2 separate regions of the Homo sapiens genome follow, and region 2 is linked to region 1. The links are contacts of gene promoters, found by promoter capture Hi-C in blood cells and fetal thymus (Javierre and others, 2016). All regions are on one chromosome and are shown on one strand. The core of a region is centred on a gene start or on the middle of the fragment in contact, and the rest is flanking DNA. Distances in the headings are between cores, read along the strand shown. Region 1 holds the start of CBX2 (chromobox 2). Region 2 overlaps CCDC40 (coiled-coil domain 40 molecular ruler complex subunit).

Evidence for each region. Contacts are between HindIII fragments. The CHiCAGO score rates a contact against its expected background, and 5 or more counts as called.
Region 2: a contact is called between a fragment that was not itself captured here and the fragment with the promoter of CBX2 in region 1, in 1 of 17 cell types (endothelial precursors). The highest score is 5.1, in endothelial precursors.

Annotation. Positions count from the first base shown.
Region 1 is chr17:79,776,577-79,779,663 of GRCh38, forward strand. It overlaps CBX2 (chromobox 2), which reads left to right and starts at 1,572. Exons shown (of 5, transcript NM_005189.3): 1 at 1,572-1,731; 2 at 1,808-1,851; 3 at 2,786-2,851. The coding sequence starts at 1,660. RefSeq lists silencers at 1,377-1,756, 1,767-1,836 and an enhancer at 2,232-2,825. The HindIII fragment of the contact is 13,003 bases long and covers 1-3,087 here.
Region 2 is chr17:80,067,397-80,070,483 of GRCh38, forward strand. All of the region lies in intron 10 of CCDC40 (coiled-coil domain 40 molecular ruler complex subunit), which reads left to right. All of the region lies in intron 1 of LOC124904074 (a long non-coding RNA gene), which reads right to left. Among named protein-coding and RNA genes, the nearest start is that of MIR1268B, 30 kb to the right of the region's middle. The HindIII fragment of the contact is 611 bases long and covers 1,305-1,915 here.

The DNA.
Region 1 (3,087 bases), core at 322-2,821:
AGGAGCCGGCGGAGACACTGTTAGCGGATCCCTTCACTCCAGAGGCCAGTTTTATCCCAACACAAGGATTCTTTACTGCCTCTGCCCCTGAGTAAACAAACACCTTCCCCCCAAGGACATTTCCCTTTCTCCTGCCCTCTTTGCAAACAACATCTGAATTTGCACGTACTCTCCAGGAAATCAAATGAATGTAACCTATCTAACCAAAGAAACTGAAGAACACGCCATAAATTGAAAGATCGGTTCCTACAGTTCAGTATTTTCTCCAGTAGGCCTTTCTGTAAAAACAAAAAAACACATTTCTCCTGCAGAACCCTTTATAAATATGGTTTTGATGATCACAATTACATTGAGACAGTCTCCTACAACAAGAAACGACTTTTGGATCTGCTCAACAGAAAGAGAATTTTGCAGCTGTGTTCAAGGAAGCAAGAAAAGCAGAGAGTGAATTTTCATGGAGTTAGACTGCGTTGAGACGAATGAAGCTAAGGCTCAGGTCTCTTTCATTACGTGTTTGACTTGTCCTGATTCAAAATCTAAATAACTTAAAGGGTGATTCTTCATGGAATTCGAATCTTAACACCGGAATAAAAGGGTAGCCTGCTGACGACGATCACAGGGAGGACAAGGGGTCACCCCCACTTTCATAACATGGCCTGACCCTTTTCTGCCGCGGACAATTGATCCGAAGGACGCCGGCTGCCCAGCCCTGGCGGGCCACTACTGACCTAGTCCGAAGTTAGGAACAGCCTTGCAAACCGCCCCCTCCCCCTCCATTTCATCAAAATCGGGGAACAAATTCAGAAAAGGTGCAGCTGGTTTTCTCCCTACACGTGCCCTAAAACTCGGGGGCTGGATCCACTTTTCATAGCTGTTTAATAAGAACTCCGGGCAGTTCGTATTACTTCTTTCTCAGAGTGCTTGGTGGTTTAAGTTAAAGCATTTTCCTCTCTCGCCTTTGGGGGAAAAAGCCTCGGCTGCTGGGGTTTGTGGGCCCCTCCCCCGGACTTCGTCTTCCTTTCCTTCCCCAGCCCCCGACCCGTTTTGCTCTCGTCCAAAACAGAGCGACTCCCCCGCTGCCGAGGAAAAGCCAGTTCAAGAAGCCGGGGGAAGGGTGGGGCCCCGCGTGCCCCGGAGCAGCGCCCCTCGAAGGCGGGGGCAGGAAGCAGCCGCCGCGCCCCGTCCCGCTTCCCTCCCTTCGGGCCAGAACAATGGCTTTTTGCCCGGAAAACGGAGTTGGGAGCAAGGGCGGGCGCGCCCCGGGAATCACGCGGGACTCGGTGGGCGCCCCAGGCCCGAAGTCCCTAGGCACCTCCTCCCCCAGCCAGGGGCCCGCCCGCGCCCCCACCCCCGCCCCCGCCCCCGCCCGGGGCCCCGCGCGGGACCCCCCGCCGGAGCGCGAGGCCCAGCCCGCCGCGGACAATGCGCGCCCCGCCCCGCCCCGCACCCGCCCCCCCTCGCTGATTGGCCCGCACGGGATTTGGGCAGCGCGCGGGGGCGGGCGGCGGGCCGGGGCGCGGGCGCGGAGCGGCGGTGCGCGTGCGCGGGGCGGGCCGGCGCCGGGCGGGGGCGGTGCTTTGTGTGCTGCCGGCGGGGCGCGCGGCGGTCCGGGCGGGTGACTGGCGGCGGGCGCCGCGGTCGGGCTGGCTGCCGGGCAGCATGGAGGAGCTGAGCAGCGTGGGCGAGCAGGTCTTCGCCGCCGAGTGCATCCTGAGCAAGCGGCTCCGCAAGGTGCGTGCGGCCCGCCGGGCCCCCCGCCCGCCGCCCGCTGTCCGTCTGGCTCACGGCCCCTCTTCTCTCCCCGCAGGGCAAGCTGGAGTACCTGGTCAAGTGGCGCGGCTGGTCCTCCAAGTGAGTCCCCCGCGACGCCGCGCCCCCCTCCCGCCCCCTCGCCCGGGGGTGGGGACGTGGAGCCCCTCGGCCGCGCCGTCCGGTGGCCTGGGGGCGCCCGCGGGCAGAGCGGGAAGTTCGCGGGGTCCCCGCGGGCTCCTCCGGCTCTGAGGGGGGCGGGGGCCGCCCGGCCCGAGGTTGCCCTTTGTTTACACGCCCGCGGGTGCAGAGCTGGGCGGCCCCCCGCGCCAGAACCTCCTCGGCTGCCGCGCCGCGCTCCCCCCAACCCCCGTCCCGGCCGGGAGGGAGGCGCGGGATGCAAGCCCCCCTCCTCTTGGCCAGATTCTCCCCGCTGTAACCTGAGCTTGCTATTGATGGATGTAGAGTTTCTTTTTTTTTTTCTTTCTTTTAATGGAAGGGAGGGTGTTTGGCATCCCCGGAAGGGGCTCTCTGCACAGCTGCTCCCGCGGCCCCGTTTCTGCGTCTTCCCGGACCCCGCTCTTTCTTCGCTACCCCTCGAGGTGCCCCGGCCCGCGCGCCACATTGTTCTGGATCTCGGGCTGGGCGCCTGTGCCCCTCCCTGCATGCTGGACCTGCCTTCCCTTCCTCCTCTGGCTCCGGGCCAGGGTTTGGGGGAATCCCTCTCTGCAACTTTGCGTTTTATGGGGGTTTGTTTTTCTCCCAGGCAGAGACTGTGGGAGTCCTCTTGTGGCCTTGTTTTAATTGGGGGGTTGGAGCGGCAGTTTCCCTTTGGGTCTGAGGTTAGAGTGCTGGCTTGGTGGGGGGTGGCCAGCCTCCAAAACCTGGGTTTGGACTTTGAGAAGTGCCATGGTGCTACGGTGCCACTGCCATCGGCCCAAGTCGAGGAGCGGTGAGGGCGAGCCCCCTCGGGCTGCCTTGCAAAGCGGTGATCATCAGCCTGGCGTCTAATGCTGCCCTGTCCTCTGCTTTGCAGACATAACAGCTGGGAGCCGGAGGAGAACATCCTGGACCCGAGGCTGCTCCTGGCCTTCCAGAAGAAGTGAGGACGCTGACAGCACTGGGGAGGGTGTGGGGGAGGGACGGTGGCTGGTTGGAGTCGTGCTGGGCGCTGCTCGCCTGCCGGGAGGCTGGAGCTGGGGCTGTGGTCTGAGGTCCCTTAGCAAGATTGTGTCCAGGGCCATCTCTGTGGCTGGCTGTAAAAGTCCCCAGCCAGCCCCTCTCCCACCTTCTCCTAGCCAGCCTGTATCCATCCCTGAGAAGAACCTAAGTAAGTGC
Region 2 (3,087 bases), core at 360-2,859, 290 kb after region 1:
ATTGCAAGAAAGCATATGCGTTCACCCGGAGTCTTCCTTCCCTCTCTTGCTCCGTGGGAGCACACCACACTCACTGTTCTGCACCTCTTTGCTTTTTCCATTTAACAGCGTGTCCCTAGAGCGCTTCCCAAGTCAAAATATAAACACCGCTCGTTCCCGCCTTTCTACCACATGGCATTCCGCTGGGATACTTCTACGGGGAAGCTTCCTGCCCGGGGCATCGAGGGCGTTCGCGTCCGTCTGTTATGGCGGTGCTGCTGTAGATAACCGGATCCGCGAATGCTAACGCTCACCAGGATGCTATATAGCCTTTTTTATATTGCCTATCAAGCCCGGAATGTCTGGGTCTAGCGGGTATTGCTAAGTAGGATTGTGACAGTCACGCCCCCGGCAGCGGTGTTTCAAAGTCCCCTGACAGCTCAGCATGTTGTCACACTTCAGGACTGTGCCAATCCGATTGATGAAGAAAATAGATAATCTTGTTTTATAAAACGTGCATGCGCAGAATGTTGAGTGAATATTTTAGTGGACTATGTACACGCACAAACACTTCACAACGAGTGAGAGAGCCTCTGACTTCACCTGCAGCTTGCCACACCAAGGCCCCGGGGAGGAGTGAGGCCCAACTTTTATTTATTATATTTTTGTGGTTCTTGCAATGGAGTCTCGCTCTGTCCCCCAGGCTGGAGTGCAGTGGCACCATCTCTGCTCACTGCGACCTCCGCCTCCTGGGTTCAAGCGATTCTCCTGCCTCAGCCTCCCAAGTAGCTGGGATTACAGGCGTGCACCACCACGCCTGGCTAATTTTTGTATTTTTAGTAGAGACGGGGTTTCACCATGTGGGCCAGGCTGATCTTGAACCCCTACCTCAGGTGATCCACCCGTCTTGGCCTCCCAAAGTGCTGGGATTACAGGCGGGAGCCACTGCGCCCGGCCAGTCTTTTAAAAGTGCAGGCCGTGTAGAACATTGTGAGAAGTATAAACTGTAATTACAGAGATTTGCTGTTTGCACCCAGATAGATTTGAAGAAGCAACTTGGAGACAGGTTTAATAGATCAGGGCCATTATTACAGAAATAAATTATTGCATAGCTTAGGACTTCCAAGCTAGGAGTGCAGTGACTGAACTATACCTCAAATATTGACCTTGAGATGTTCAGATTTGTAGAGCATCTTAGAAAATGGTGACATTCCTGGCTGATGGTCAGGATGGTGCATACCAGGCCGGTACCCTGGTGGCTGTCTGGGCATTTCTGGAGCCTTCACCCTGCGAGATCCCCATGGGGCAGGACCCCCTGGCCCAGAAGCTTGGTTTTGCCATCACACCGAGAAGGCACACTTGTCCTGGAGTTAGTTTACATGAATCGAGCTCACCAGAGCCTGACGTGTAACTGAGTATAATAGCCCATTTATGTGCATGATGAAATATAAACACCAAAGAACCGAATGCTCCACGCTCGGACTAGCAGATTCTTATCTGTGGGGGAGGACACAGGAGCGGATGACACAGACCCCTGCTCAGGGACCGGCTAGAGGGCGGAATGCCTGGGCCCCGGCCCTGTCTGCTTCCTGCTTCTTCCCCGAAGTTCATGGCCTGTCCGTCCACATGGGCGGGAGGTGTCCCGCGAGCAGCCCTCACCCTGACCTTGGCTGCTTTCTCCATTCCATTCCCCACCCCTCCTCCCTCCTGACACCCATGGCATTTTTTCAGATAAGTTAATACCTTTGATTAGGTTCCAGCCAAACCTCACCCTTTCTCTTTCCCCATGCCTTTGTGTCTCTCTTCGTCTGATGTCGAGTCTACAACCTAATGCTTTGAAGACAGACTGACTTCCCCGTCCTTGGTCAGGGGGTTGCTGCTGCGTGGGGGGGGCGGTAACCATAATCTTGCCCCCGTGTCTCATACACAAGCTGCAAGCTTAGCTCAGAAGCTGTGCCTGTCTTGGCTGCTTTTTCTTGCTGTCTTCCCTATTTTTGCAGGAGTTTTGCACACGGTCATAAAAGTTCAGGAGAAACATGAAACGTGTTATTCTGTTTCCTGTTTAAGTCGACCTGAGGAAGCTGAAGGGGTCAGGCGCGGTGGCTCACGCCTGTAATCCCAGCTCTTTGGGAGGCCGAGGCGGGCAGATCACGAGCTCAGGAGCTGGAGATTGAAACCATCTTGGCTAACATGGTGAAACCCCGTCTCTACTAAAAATACAAAAAAACAGCCAGACCTGGTGGCGGGCACCTGTGGTCCCAGCTACTCAGGAGGCTGAGGCAGGAGAATCGCCTGAACCCGGGAGGTGGAGGTGGCGGTGAAGCAAGATGGTGCCACTGCACTCCAGCCTGGGTGACAGAGCGAGACTTCGTCTCAAAAAAATAAGAAAGAAAAAGAAAAAAAAGAGAGAGAGAGAGACAGAGAGAGAGAGAGAAAAAAAGAAAGAAAGAAAAGAAAAGAAAACTGAGGGCTTGCCCTAATCTCCTAGACTTCCTTTTCCCTCAGTCCTGATGATGGCAGAGACGACTCCTCAAAGGCTCTTCCCCTTGGCATGGAGTGCTGGAGCCTGCCCTAGGGAGGGAGGACAGGATGGAGCAAGACACTGAACGCAGAATTAGAGCTAGGCAACGAGCGGGTGATTTCACTGTTTCCTGGGTAACAAGCCCCAGGCTCAGCTCGGTCTGGTGTAGCCCCTCAAAGGGGACACTGTCCTTGCCCCCAGTTGATGGAGGAGGAAGGAGCGGAAGGCAGTGTGGGATGGGTTGGGTGTGGGCATTGCCACAGTGTCCCCAGCAGGCCTCCTTCTAGCCTGGGGATCTGGCAGGTGGGTCCCAGTCACCACCAATGCCCCATATACCCAAGGACACTGGTGACCCAGCAGACCTGAGGCCACAGACCAAAGACAGAGTAACAACCCCATTAAAAATGTGCCCCCATGGGCGGGCATAGTGGCTCCTGCCTGTAATCACAGTGCTTTGGGAGACTGAGGCAAGAGGATCCCTTAAGCCCAGGAGTTCAAGACCAGCCCGGGCAACATAGTAAAGTAAGACCTTGTCTCTAAAATAAAATATAAAAAATAGCCAGGTGTGGTGGTGTGTGCCTGTGGTC